Regions from separate parts of the Homo sapiens genome. Here region 2 is linked to region 1. Evidence: promoter capture Hi-C in 16 types of primary human blood cells and fetal thymus (Javierre and others, 2016). All regions are on one chromosome and are shown on one strand. The core of a region is centred on a gene start or on the middle of the fragment in contact, and the rest is flanking DNA. Distances in the headings are between cores, read along the strand shown.

Evidence for each region. Contacts are between HindIII fragments. The CHiCAGO score rates a contact against its expected background, and 5 or more counts as called.
Region 2: a contact is called between a fragment that was not itself captured here and the fragment with the promoter of SOCS1 in region 1, in 6 of 17 cell types (activated CD4 T cells, M0 macrophages, total CD4 T cells and 3 more). The highest score is 11.0, in activated CD4 T cells.

What each region holds. Positions count from the first base shown.
Region 1 is chr16:11,252,438-11,259,640 of GRCh38, forward strand. It overlaps SOCS1 (suppressor of cytokine signaling 1), which reads right to left and starts at 3,767. Exons shown (of 2, transcript NM_003745.2): 1 at 3,642-3,767; 2 at 1,980-3,091. The coding sequence starts at 3,041. The coding sequence ends at 2,406. All of the region lies in intron 1 of LOC105371082 (a long non-coding RNA gene), which reads left to right. RefSeq lists enhancers at 1,633-1,802, 6,314-6,543 and silencers at 2,413-2,502, 2,913-3,062, 3,073-3,122, 3,223-3,962, 4,213-4,412. The HindIII fragment of the contact is 18,048 bases long and covers 1-6,329 here.
Region 2 is chr16:10,981,740-10,988,942 of GRCh38, forward strand. It overlaps CLEC16A (C-type lectin domain containing 16A), which reads left to right. Exons shown (of 24, transcript NM_015226.3): 10 at 1,139-1,252. Among named protein-coding and RNA genes, the nearest start is that of CLEC16A, 41 kb to the left of the region's middle. RefSeq lists a silencer at 231-300. The HindIII fragment of the contact is 1,125 bases long and covers 2,559-3,683 here.

The sequences.
Region 1 (7,203 bases), core at 2,517-5,016:
TGATCAGAGGGGGCCTTTACTCTTAGCTGTTCTGCTTCAAGTTCTGCAAGGGGAATGGGTTTGGATACCCAACACTTGCGTAAGGAAAATACGATTTTCATACTTTTTTCAAAGGAGGAAAAAAAACTGTAACATATTGCAAGCTACCTGCTAGCTGACCCCTCTTTTGAGGAGGACCTGTTTTCCCATCTGTAAAACGGGGATGTTCACAGTCCCTACATCGGAAGGCTGGGTGTGAGTTCAATGTTTTACACAGGTGATGCGGGACCTGGGAGCAGTTCCTGCACAGACAATGCTACATAGAAATATGAGCAGCTGCTATTATTACTGCAGCGGTTAGGTCCTCCGGTTGCCTAGTGGTACCCAGCCTCTGAAAAAGTCCTGAGTGGGTTTGCAAAACCTGGCTCCACCCCTTGTTGTGGTCCTGCTTTGCCTCTTGGAGCCCGTTTTCCCATCTGTAAAATGGGGCCAGCACAGCCACTGAGTGGTCACTAAGGGTCTGTGAGTATACTAGTATTACAACCAGATCCCCAAGCATTGCCATCTTGGATTTCTGTTTCTCCAGACACTGCCCACAGCAGGCAACAGACAGGAAAGAACAAGGACAGGACTTAATTAATCCACAGCAGAGAAGAAAGGGCAGGGGTGTGGCAAAAAAAAAAAAAGAAAAGAAAAGAAAAGAAAAGAAAAGAAAAAGCAAGATTTTTGGAGATAGAGACAAGACATCACCTCCTTCCCTCCCACTTCACCTTATTAAGGGATGAAATTGCCAAAGCTCTCTGAGATCCTAAATCTCTTCTGGCCATCCTTAAAGTCCTGGAGCCTACTTAATCCCCAAGACAGGCCTGGGCTGCTCTGACTCTCTGACCATCAAGTTAATTTTATGTTGTACTTTCAAGTCTGAAAAGTATTATTAAGCATTAGAACACTATTATATGTGTCTCCAAGGCTGAAGAGGGCCACTCTATCTTCTAAAGATGAAGTATGACGTGTCCACCAGGCTGCTTAACCCTAAATCTGAAAATGACTCAGTTCACCATGTGTTGAGTACAACCCTCAAGTTACCACCATGGCCCATGTGTCAGGCTGGCCAAAGACACAGAAGTTGCCAGAAACCCAGGTCCTGGACACTTTCTGGTGCTGTGGGCCAGCCCCACAAACGTCCTGGAGCCACTCTTCCCTTCCCTGGCTCCTGAAAACATCCACCTCCTCTATGATGCGCAGAAAGTTGCCCTTAGAAAGGTGGAGGCCCAGGGAGGCAAGGGGAATTGCCCTAGCCGCCAGCAGCACCCTCCCGCCACCACAGACCACACAGTCTCCTTCTGGCTCCAAGTTGTGTGTTCACCAAAAAGTACACAAGACAGAGCAGGGTGAGAAGAAGGAAGCTAGACCCAGCCCTGTATCCCCCATCTCATCTCAACTGAGTATCCCTTGATGCTGGTTCAGAATGTGCCACTCCTCTGTCCAAAAACTCACTAAGCCCCCACCCCCACCCCTTCCTGGAAGCTGTTGTGGTCATAGAACCAAAGAAGTTTCCTCTCTGTTATCCATTTCAAGCAGATGTTTAGTGGACAGCCAAAAAAAGGCCCAAGTGTTGTCTTTGACAGGAATGGCCACAGGCAGATTTACTCAGTTTTCCCTTCTGTAGAATGGAAATAAGAGCCCGTGCCTCACAGGGTTGTGCCTCTCTTTATAGGATTAAGTAAATTTAAGTATGCAAAGCACAGAATTAGGGCTGGCACGCACAAAGTGCTCAAACGCGAGCTGCTGTCTTACCGGACACACGCCAAAACTAGACCAACCGTTTCTCTCCCTGGAGAGTTGTGGGTGGAACCGTGAGGGATGCCCAGCCACAGGGCAGGCCCCGTACACCACCTGCAGCCCAGCAGGTCAGCCTTAGGACCCTCTCCCCTGGACCTGTTCAGAACCAAGTTAAACTTTTGGCCAAAGCACACTCGCTAGAAAACTTATTTTTTTTTAAAAAAAAAACTTTCATAATAAAGTTTATTACCTAAACTGACTTTAAAAAATATAAAATAGGATTCTGCACAGCAGAAAAATAAAGCCAGAGACCCTCCCCCAACCCCTGGTTTGTGCAAAGATACTGGGTATATGTAAACATGAAGAGGTAGGAGGTGCGAGTTCAGGTCCTGGCTCCAGATACAGTTAAGCTGCTACAACAACCAGGGGGACCCAGAGGGAGCACCAGGAGGGGGAGGACCCCCTCAAGAGGTGAGAAGGGGTCTGCGGCCTCGTCTCCAGCCGAGGGCGGGAGGCGCCTCGCCCCTACACCCATCCGCTCCCTCCAACCCAGGCCGGGGAGGGTACCCACATGGTTCCAGGCAAGTAATAACAAAATAACACGGCATCCCAGTTAATGCTGCGTGCACGGCGGGCGCTGCCGGTCAAATCTGGAAGGGGAAGGAGCTCAGGTAGTCGCGGAGGACGGGGTTGAGGGGGATGCGAGCCAGGTTCTCGCGGCCCACGGTGGCCACGATGCGCTGGCGGCACAGCTCCTGCAGCGGCCGCACGCGGCGCTGGCGCAGCGGGGCCCCCAGCATGCGGCGCGGCGCCGCCACGTAGTGCTCCAGCAGCTCGAAGAGGCAGTCGAAGCTCTCGCGGCTGCCATCCAGGTGAAAGCGGCCGGCCTGAAAGTGCACGCGGATGCTCGTGGGTCCCGAGGCCATCTTCACGCTAAGGGCGAAAAAGCAGTTCCGCTGGCGGCTGTCGCGCACCAGGAAGGTGCCCACGGGCTCGGCGCGCAGCCGCTCGTGCGCCCCGTGCACGCTCAGGGGCCCCCAGTAGAATCCGCAGGCGTCCAGGAGCGCGCTGGCGCGCGTGATGCGCCGGTAATCGGCGTGCGAACGGAATGTGCGGAAGTGCGTGTCGCCGGGGGCCGGGGCCGGGACCGCGGGGCACGGCCGCGGGCGCGCGGGGGCCGCGGGCGAGGAGGAGGAAGAGGAGGAAGGTTCTGGCCGCCGTCGGGGCTCTGCTGCTGTGGAGACTGCATTGTCGGCTGCCACCTGGTTGTGTGCTACCATCCTACAGAAGGGGCCAGCCGGAGGGGTGGGCCATAGCGTCCGGGGGTGCGCTGCGGGAGAGACAAAGAGGTGAGCTGGGGCGCTGCGGGGCCGGGCAGGTGTGCGCCGGCCGGACAACTCCGGAGGGCGGCGCTCCCGGCGGACCCGGCCCTAGGGGGCGAGCACGGAGCACCAAGTCCGCGCGGATCCGTTCAGCCTCAGTGGACACAGCTAGAAAATGGGCTCTGTACTCCGCGGAGCTCTTCCCGGCGGGTGGGGGCTCGGTGGAGGCGGAGTCCGGCCTCCGGGCAGCACCGAGAGGGGGGCGTGGAGAGCAGCCGGTTCTGGCTCCAGCCGTCCGGCCCCGGCTCGCCGCCCCGCGCCCGCCGCCTGCTGGCCAGGCTGGGATCCGCGCCTGGTCTGGGCGATTTGGGCTAGGGCCGGAGAAAGGCTGTGCTGCGGGAGCCCCGCGCGCGGGGGGCGGCCTGGGTGGGGCCGGCGAGGGTCAGGGGCATCGCGGCCGCGACCCCATTCTGCAGCCCCCGAGGCTCGCCCGACTCCTGGCTGCCCTGGACTCCCCTCCCTCCTCCCTCCCGCCTCCTCGCCCAGGGCCCGGCTCACCTGGCGGCGGGGCGCGGGACGCCGCGGGCGGGACGGCGGGGGGCTCCGGGGCGCTCCGGGGCGGCTCTCGCGCATGCTCCGGGGCCAGGAGCCGTGCAGCTGCCACGGCCGCAGCTCGCTCTGTTCGGCGCCCGCCCCTGCGCCAGTCTTTTAAACCGGCTCGGAGGCGGGGCTGGCGACGGCGGGAGGCCCCGCCCCCTGCCGGCCCCGCCCCCAGCTCCACTTTTGGTTTCTCTTTCCGCGGTGGCGTCCGGCGAGGACCGCTTCGGCCCTGTTTCCCTCTCTTCTGGACCCTCCCGCGGGGCCCTCTGCCCGCCTGTTCGCACCTGCCCCAGCACCCGCCTCTCGAGGGGCTCTGGCCCCGACCCTGCGCCTTCCGGCCACTTCTCGGACCCCTCCTTCGGACTTGGCGACCCCGATTTTGCCCCGCTACCTCGGGTTCCACTTTCTGCCGCCAGGCCCTCTTGGGACGCGCCCTGACACACCCTCCTCCGCCCCAGCTGTCTCCACACCCGCCGGGGGCAGAGCCCTGTCCTCTCCTCCCCTGCAGCCAGATCCCCCTAGGAGGCCACAGAAGGTGTCCCCAACCCTGAGCCTGACCCCACCCGTAGACCCCCTCCTAGCCCCTGCTCCACCCGCCGTCGACGCCCTCAGTCGCCCGCCCTGCTGTCCCGAAGCCCCGGCCGGCCGCGGTCTCTGGTCTTGGCTCGGGCTTCCCGGGAAGCGGCGGCCTGACCACAGGCTTCAGAGGAACCCCTGGCGGCGCGGGCGCCTCCACCCCGGCCCAGTTCCTCGGAAACTGGGCGGGGCCGGGCAAGGTCCCTGGTGGCCTCGACTGCCCTCCCTGCGCTCCCACTACCCGGCTGCGGAAGAAACTGAGGCTGGGGAGGGGCTGGGATTTGCAATGGCTTGCAGATTGGGAGCTCTGGACCTGGATCTCGCCTTCCCCGTCTTCATTTTGGGGAGAGGTGCAGCTGGACGACATCAAATTGGAGCCCAGTGAAAAAATGGTGCATTCTCAGACGTGATGAATCCCCAAACCTGGTTTCCTAGCCCTCCTCTCCCCCGACCCCTTCCTCATAGATTTCCCCCTCCTACTGCTCCGTCAGGCATCTGCCCTTCAAAGACTGCCTTCCCACCACACACACGGCCGGGGCTTGGGATGGTGGGCGGTCGGTGGTCGGGGCTGTAATTTGCACACGTGTTTGTGATTTAGTGATTCCGATTGTCGTGCGAGGCCATGGAGTAGGTGCCTGGCTGCTCCGTGTATTTTTGAATGAAGGCATGTGAGGAGCCCCAGCATCACAAGGGGCCACATAAAAACCTGGCTAGGCTGGGCACTTGGTTACTGGCCTCACACTGGGACACACTGCCCTCTACAGACAGCTCTCAGACGGCTTCTCTCCTGGAAGCCCTGGTGCCCAGTCCCTTCCCGCCTCCCTGGCCCCACGATACCTCTTTCCCCAGGCAGAGCCTAGGTCCTTATTAACCTCCTGAACACAGGGAGTGGCCCAGAATCAGCCCAGCTTAGCACCCCATCAGTGCCCTGAATCTGCATGTGGCCAGGGCTGGTGGTGGTCATTGGTGTAGCCTCCTAGGTTGTGCGTGTGTGTGCGTGCGCGTGCGTGAGGGGGTGAGAGAAGATGCAGAACCTTGCCTGCACCAGAGGTCAGGTGTGTGATCATTCGAGAGATGTCCACTGAACATCTGCTGGAGGCCACACTCTGTGGAGGGTGATGGAATACAAGGAGACCCAGTTCCAAATCTGCACCTTTCTATTCTTGTGACCTTGAGCATGTAATTAACCTCTCTGCCATGGTTTCTTTATCTGTGAAATGGGGATAATAATAGTACCTCTAGCAGGGCGCAGTAGCTCATGCCTATAATCCCAGCACTTGGAAGGCCAAGACAGGAGGATTGCTTGAGCCCAGGAGTTTGAGAACAGCCTGGGCAACAAAGTGAGACCCCCTCTCTACAAAAAAAAAAAAAAAAAAAAAAAAATAGTACAAAAATCAGCCAGTCGTAGTGGATTGCACCTGCAGTCCCAGCTACTTGGGAGGCTGAAGCAGGAGGATTGCCTGAGCCCAGGAGGTCAAGGCTGCAGTGAGCCACGATTGTGTCACTGCACTCCAGCCGGGGCAACAGACTAAGACCCTGTCTCAAAAAAAAATAAATAAATAGTACCTCCATCCCGGGGTTGTATGGGAATTAAATGAGTGATTATGGGTCAGGTGCTTAAAACAGCCCGTAGTGTCTAATAAGCAGTCGGTAGATGTTTGTTGTTCATCTGAGGGTGCCTGTGGGTGTGGCAGTGTGTTGGAGCCCACAGACGCATGGCTTCAACCCCTGTGTCCATTTTTTTAAAGAGATGGAGTGTAGCTCTGTTGCTCAGGCTGGAGTGTAGTGATAGGATCGAGGAGGCACTATAGCCTCGACCTCCTGGGCTCAAGAGATTCTCCCATCTCAGCCTCCTGAGTAGCTGAGACTACAGGCACATGCCACCACACCCGGCTAATTTTTTAAATTTTTTGTAGGGATGGGGTCTCACTACGTTGCCCAGGCTGGTCTCGAACTCCTGTCCTTTAGTGACCCTCCTGCCCTGGCTTCCCAAAGCACTGCCTTATATCTATGTTTGAAGCCCTAGTCCAGGGACCACAGGCCAGGGAAGGCACAGCAAGGGAGCAGGAAAGCTTCTAAAGGTACACTCAGCACACGTGGGTTCTCCTCACTGCCACCAGTGACAGACAGCTTTGGTTTCATTTTCTGAAGTCCTGTGTTCAAAATGAAACCAAATCCAGATGCCGAAAGAGAAAAGGAAATCTGCTGGTTGACAAGCATCCACCTTGTGGGCTGTTCTGCTGGAGGGCTGGGCACCAGGCTCACAGGAAGCCAGGCAGTGCGAAACCCTGAGGGGCTCAGAGTGCTCGGTAGGATGGGACCAGGCTCTGACCCCAGACCTGCTGCATGACCTTGGGCAAGTGACCTGTCCTCTTGGGACCTGATTTGCCCCAACTGCAAAGTGATCTCTGGACATCTCGTACCTCACAGAGCAGCCAGACATGCAGAGCCAAGGGCAAAATGCCAGGCATGGAGTCGGTGCTTGGCACAATGACCTCTTGTCACAGGGCGGATGGACCAGCCCTATATCCACAGCTTACTAAACCACAGCCACAGCCAGATGTGTGGAAACATTCTCCTCCCTATCTTGGCAGATCCTCGTACCCCAAATGTGAGGGGCCCAGCCAGCATCTGGGGGAAGTCAAGATCCTGGTGGCTTATGGCACTTAGCTTTTCAGTTTCTCTTTCCGGCTTTGGTGGCGCCTTGCTGGGAAAAGTAGCTCCTGGCCAGGGTGTGTAATCGTGAAACTAGCCTCTGCCCCGGAATTCCTCAGCCCTGCTTTTCCTCTAACCCATGTGTCGGGAAGGTTCCCATGGGAGTCTGTGCCCCTGGGAACCCCGAGCAGTGGGGCTCACAGTGTGGATTCTGCTGACCGCTGGTCTGAATTTAAATGGGTCATTTCATAAGTATGTGGCCTGGGGCCAGCTTCTTAGCTTTTCTGTG
Region 2 (7,203 bases), core at 1,871-4,370, 270 kb before region 1:
GCTCCTGACTTCTATCCCCAGAGACAATTAGGGTTACAGGGTTCTCGTATGTCCTAACAGAGACATCTGTCAGGGGTTCTTAACTAGGGGCAATTTTGCCCCTCAGGGGATACCTGGCAGTGTCTGGGGAGATGCATTCAGTTGTCATGACCGAGGCTGGGGTGCTACTGACATCTAGTGGGTGGAGGTCAGGGATGCTGCTCACCAGCCTGCAGTGTCTGGGACAGCCTCCCTCCATACTCAGTTATAGCCCAAATTGTCAGCAGTGCCAAGATTGAGAAACCCTGGCCTATGCATATGTAAATAAGCAAATACAAACATGCACACGCTTTTCTATGCAAATGGTAGATAAGCCACACCCTGTGCTACACCCTCTTGCCTTTACATTTTAAAACAAAATAGCAGGCATGTCTAGGCCAGCTTTGCAAGACAGTTTTGAATACCCTGATTCTTAAAGCTGGTCCTCTGAACATTGGGCAACAGGTGTGGGAGCAGGGCCAGCTTAGCCCAGAGGCAGCCCTCTGATTTTGCATCCTGGCCCACCTGGGTTTGCCTCTGTCTCGTGTGATTTTCAGCCCCGTAGTTCACATACCTCCTGACGATGCTGTGGAATCCCCGTGTGCTAAAACCCACCACAGGGTCAGAGCTCCCTCCCGTGATGGAATCTCTGTGTAGCCAACCCTCTGCCAAGTCCTTGATTGGAACAAAACTCTCCGGCCCCTTCTTCTTGTATCACTAAAGTATTGGGACAGTGCCTTCTAGTCTTCTCATAACCAAATTTGACACTAAAATGCCCATGGAAAGGAAGGAGTGTGCTGGTTTGGCTGTTCTTTCCCGCATTGCTCCACTTCAGCCGGATTTGGCTTCACCCAGCCATGAGGGACAGTCTCGCATTAATGCACTTCCTTCCGAGGAAGAGCAGCCAGCCAAATAGGCAACAGTCTGAAGGAGAGACTGACCTTACAAGAGTGGAACCGAGTCCTGCTTCCTGTGGCTCATTCTTTGAATTTTGCATCGTAGGAATTGCTGCTTAATACAGGACTTAGGTAGCCCAGCCTGGTCGCTTCTGATCCAGGAAGCAAGAGGTTGAAAATACCGCACACTTTCATGCAAATCCCGTTTCTTTTTTTTCCGCCAGGTCTTCTTAATTATACATCATGCACCGCTGGTGAACTCGTTAGCTGAAGTCATTCTGAATGGTGATCTGTCTGAGATGTACGCTAAGACTGAACAGGATATTCAGAGAAGTTCTGTAAGTCATTAGCTTCGGGACTGACCTTAACAGGAAACCATTGCTCATTTTGCTAATCTGTGTGTTTCTCTAAAATCAGAAACTAACATTCTGAATATATAGCAGTGATGATGCATAAGCTGGTCCGGGATTCAGTGAACCTAATCAGAGTCTTGATTGCATACCCAAGAGAAGCTGGGATCAGGGACCACCTGGATTTGATTGATTGTGTGTTCTTAAACATGGAATTGTACCACTCCGGGCCTTAGGTTGCATATCTGTGAGACACTGTTATCGGGACACAGTGAGAAAATGCCTTATCAGAGGAACTAATGTCTACAGAAGTTGGGCGATGAACATCCATGAATGACTCAGGCCCCAGGTGAGGGCAGTAGAGAGTGGCGAGGGGTGTGGCAAATTGGAGAGTGTATGCCACCTTGGCGAGCAGCTCCTGTTCTACCCCAGGCTGCTGCTGTTCTGCAGGAATATGGATGTAGGATTACTAGGTTTTTTCATGTTTCTAGAGAAGCGGGAAAAACGCATTGTTACGTGTAATCTCTAGTTTTAAATGATCATCAAGCTTTGGACTAAGTAGCATGTTTGTGGTCTGCAGGAAGGAGCTTTGGCGTTCCATTTGGTACACTGCTGAGGGAAAACACCTGATGGCCAGTGTTGTGACTTCTCTTGAAGCTTTTCCATCTTGTCCTCTGTATATCTCTGCTGTCATCTCTCAGATCCTGCTCACATGTCCTGAGCTCCAGCTGCCTTAATCCTGGTCTGACTTGCTTTTCCCCCAGCATGTCCAGCATTTGTGCCTTTGAACCTGCGCCTTTACCGTACCTACAGCCTGGTTCCTGATGCACCTGGTTCCCTCTTTTCAAAGGTCTTACCCACTCTAAGCTCCTTATGGCAGGGATCTCACCTGTCACTGAATCAGCTGCAGTCTGGGCTGCACAAATGCTCATCTCACTTATGCGGAGCCCAGGCTGCAGCTGATTCAGTGACAGGTGAGATCCCTGCCATAAGGAGCTTAGAGTGGGTAAGTGAGATGAGCATAGTGCGTTTTATACAAGGGCTGTTTCATAAAGGTTTCCTCTCTGCAGCCAGGTGCTCAGGCAGTGGCCAGGCTGGTAAAAGGGCCAGCTCGCCCTGGGGTAGTAGATTTGCTGCCCCACCTACATGAATGGGTGGAATGTGACCCTGTGGATGAAAGGCCACCACTGCATGGAGTACAATTACAAGAGGCCCCTGCCCTTCCACTGGTTTTGGTGTATGATGGTCTGGCCAGGTCATTTTGTTATTCAGGGGAGCATTAGCGCCTCTGAAAAGCTTCCCAGAAACTCTGTCCTTGTTAGTGGTGGTGGCATTAGTGAATTGATTGGGGCCTTTTCATGGCCCCTGTCTGGCCTATCCCTTTCTTGATTCATTCAGCAGTGTTGATGGAGCTCTTTCTTTGGGCCAAGTATCATGCTAGTTCTGGGGATACACAATGTCATAAAGAGTCTGTGCCGTATTCGAGCTTTACAGTACAGTAGAGAGGTGGACATGGATCAGATATGCAAATAACTCACTGTCTTAACTCTTATAAGCGCTCTAAAGGGAAGAAGTGTTTGGTGAGAGGCTTTGGCCTAGAGGTGACAGGGGTGATGTGTTAAAGATTTTCCTAGTGGTCCATCTCATGACAACACACGGTCTGGCAAATGTACAGCTGACTCAGAGTTTATGGGGCCCTAGATATTTCTCTGCAACTTTCTTAAACTAGCGTTTGCTAAATGAATGTAAGTCACGGAAGGCTGAGTCAGCAGAATCAGCAGGGCCTCCAGTTAGAGGTGCAGAGTGCCCTGCCAGCCACCTGGTCTCGGGCAGGTTGTTTCACTCCATTTAGAAAACAGGCAGCGCAAGCCCTGCTCTAGAGAGCTGATGGAGATGGGGGCAAAATATAAAGTGCCCGCTGGGCACGGTGGCTCACCCCTGTAATCCCAGCACTTTGGGAGGCCGAGGCGGGCAGATCACCGGGTCAGGAGATCGAGACCATCCTGGCTAACACGGTGAAACCCCGTCTCTACTAAAAATACAAAAAAAATTGGCCGGGCATGGTGGCAGGCGCCTGCAGTCTCAGCTACTCGGGAGGCTGAGGCAGGAGAATGGCGTGAACCCAGGAGGCGGAGCTTGCAGTGAGCTGAGATTGCGCCACTGCACTCCAGCCTGGGCGACAGAGCAAGACTCCATCTCAAAAAAAAAAAAAAAAAAATATATATATATATATAGTGCCCATCAAGTGCCTGCTGGGTTGCAAACTGGCCACCAGACTCATTTGGTTTGGTCTTTGCAGTATTTAAAAGAAAATTTTCTGAATTGCCAACATTAAAATTTAGGAAGAAAAGTCCAGATTTTTGGAATCTTCTCCAACAGTCAGAAGATCTGGTCCCCATCAATGCACGTTTCTACGGGAAGCTTCGCAGAGCCTGCCCCCATCAGATGAGGCGTGTTTACCGTGAAACCTGCCCACTGCTAACTGGGACTACATTGATGTTAATATGTTAATAGCAACTGGAGATGTACTGGGTCCCTCGGGACTTTTTTTTTTTTTTAGTTGCATGATTTCCAAGCCTGAGGATAGCTGCCGTGGCTTCATCTCAGATTGTCTTACTGTAAGATACCCTCTGCAGTGCTGAAGCTAGACTTGTCGTTCTAAGAGATGAAACCAGAGATTGCTGGGCTCTGGGGTTTGCAGCATTGTTTATTTATTTTTATTTATTTATTTATTTTGAGATGGAGTCTCTGTCGCCCAGGCTGGAGTGCAGTGGCGTGATCTCGGCTCACTGCAGCCTCTGCCTCTGGGTTCAAGCGTCAGCCTCCCAAGTAGCTGGGATTACAGGCATGTGCCACCACGCCCAGCTAATTTTTGTATTTTTAGTAGAAATGGGCTTTCACCATGTTGGCCAGGCTGCTCTTGAACTCCTGAGCTCAACTGATCTGCCTGCCTTGGCCTCCCAAAGTGTTGGGATTACAAGTGTGAGACACTGCACCTGGCCTGCAGAATTTTTTTTTTTTTTTTTTTTTTTTTTTTTTTTTTTTGAGACTGAGTCTCGCTCTGTCGCCCAGGCTGGAGTACAGCGGCACGATCTCAGCTCACTGCAAGCTCTGCCTCCCGGGTTCACGCCATTCTCCTGCCTCAGCCTCCCAAGTAGCTGGGACTACAGGCGCCTGCCCCCACACCCGGCTCATTTTTTGTATTTTTAGTAGAGACGGGGTTTCACTATGTTAGCCAGGATGGTCTCAATCTCCTGACCTCGTGATCCACCCGCCTCAGCCTCCCAAAGTGCTGAGATTACAGGCATGAGCCGGCCTGCTGCATTTTTAGAGTTGTGATAAGAACACAACATGAGATCTACCCTTTTAACACATTTTTATTTGTATGGTTAACATTATTGTTGAGTGTAGGCACAGCATCATTCAGCAGATTTCTAGATCTCATTTATCTTGCATACTGAAACTTCAGAAGTACAATGTGCTATCCATTGCTCTGTGGAGTCACCTGCATGACTGATACTTCATACCCACTGGACAACAACTCTCCATCCCCCCAGCCCCAGCAATCACCATTCTCCTCTCTGCATGAGTTTGACAATTTTAGATACCTCGTATAAGTAGAATCGTGCAGCATTTGTCTTTGTCACTGGCTCATTTCACTTAATGTAATGTCCTCGAGATTCATCCATGTTGTCGCATATATCAGAATTTATTTCTTTAAGGCTCAATGTGTGTGTGTGTGTGTGTGTGTGTGTGTGTACCAAGAAATATACCACATTTTCTTTTTCTTTCTTTATCCATTTATCCATCATTATGCAGTTTTAGTTTTTTTGATTTTTTTTTTGGTGTGTTTTGTTTTGTTTTGTTTTTGACAGAGTCTGGCTCTGTCGCCCAGGCTGGAGTACAGTAGCGTGATCTCGGCTCACTGCAACCTCTGTCTCCAGGGTTCAAGTGATTCTCGTGCCTCAGCCTCCGAATAGCTGGGACTACAGGCATGCACCACCACACCCAGCTAATTTTGTTTGTATTTTTAGTAGAGATGGGATTTTACCATGTTGGCCAGGCTGGTCTTGAACTTCTGGCCTCAAGTGATCTGCCCGTCTTAGCCTCCCAATGTGCTGGGATTACAGGTGTGAGCCACTGCACCCAGCTTTTATGCAGTTTTTTTTTTAATTGAAATTTTTTACTGAGATAATTATAGATTTGCGTGCAGTTGTAACAGATAATACAGAGAGATCTTCCTCAGTTTCCCCCAGTGGTAACATCTTGCAAAACTCTAGTACACCCTCACAAGCAGGATATTGACAGTGATACATAGGATTTATGTTTGAGCAAAAGCAAACTGCGGGTTACTGGCAACCTCTCAGTTTAGGACACTGGCTGTAGCTCAACCATTTAGTCAGGGGAAGTGTTTAGGAGATCTGTCCTCTCTCCTGATATGGCCTCTTCTTAGGATGAAGGTCTCACCTCCCTTGTGAGAGACACACAAACTGCCTTTGGGATGTAAGAGCCAGTTGTGGTGGACACCTGAACTGAAAATGAGACTCTGTAGCGTGGAGGGAATTGCTAGCCCACATGTGTCGGCTTTCTGCTTCCAGTTACTACCTTTCTCTCAGTGTGAAGTTGAAGTTGGTTGTAATCTGATGACTATCGTTCAGGTTTGGGAAGAGCACAGGCTGAATTCCTTCTGTGACTTGTTTGATAATAGTCCTGGTACGATTTACCTTCCTTCCCTATGAGCGAGAACAGACTCCTATTGTTTCCTGCCCAACTCGGATGTGGTTTGATTATACTTGTTTTAAGTTTCTTGGTCTTTTTTAACCTACTTTCTCCTTCCCGTAATTTGTAGATAAGTTACTGGTATTGCCTCATTTTTACCAGCAGACCTTTCACAAAACCAAACCAAAATTGAAGAGAGAGAAGCAGAGGGGAGATCACAGTTATTTGAAAGGACTGTAATTTAGGGTTAAATGGAAAACACATCAGCATGGTTAGATGAATGTCTAATTGAAATTCATCTGTGCGTTAAAATCATATGGTTCCTGCTAAAGGCTAATTCTTGCTATAATTCGAATGCAGAGCAGATAGTGTTTCTTGTGTGGGGAAATCGAGTAGGACAACACTAATTCTGAAACTGCTAACATCTCGTTGTTTTTGCAGAATGAACATATAGATTAGAATTTGGGATATGCATCATTACTTGTAGGTACTTTTTTTAAAGGACTTTTTTTTCCTCTTGGGTTTCTGTGGAATGGTTTCCTTCATTTTTGCATTCATTCATTTATTCATCTATTCATCCATTCCTTCAGCAGCCATCTGTTGTGTACTTGTGCTGAGAGATGAGGGATGTGGTGGTGCACTGGAACGACCTGACCCCTGCCCTCCCTGGGCTTCCCTCCTCCCATGAGGACAGGGACCATGTCTCGGAGATGCCTGTGCCACCTGTGCCATCATGGGGCTTGCCAGAGATGCCCAGGGAGGTGTTCGGTGCAGGAGTGAATGACTCAGTGGGTGAAGTGGTAGCAGAGTCACAAGGGCTCTCGTGACATTCTTGTAATGACTCTCAGAGCAGAAGTCACTTCCTAGCCTGCCCCTTGAATGCCGCCTTCTCTTTGCCTCAGTGGCTGGGTTTGCAGTGGGCTGCTTTTGGTGCTGTTCCATGTTCCACCTCCAGAGGCAGCCTTGTGGAGTGGGTGCTGTAACCAGTTTCCCTGGGCTCCTCAAATCGTGGTCCCTGATTTTACTAGGTGTTCCCGGGCCTCAGTTTCTTACCTCTCCAGTGAGAATAGCAAACATGGGTTTATGATGAGAATTAAGTGCCGTGTAAAGTGCTTACTCCAAAGCCTTTTTATGTACACAGCAAGTGCATAAATATTAGATGTTATCATTATAATGACCTTAGTTCCTAAGGCTGCGCAGTGACCTTCCACCTCCTACCT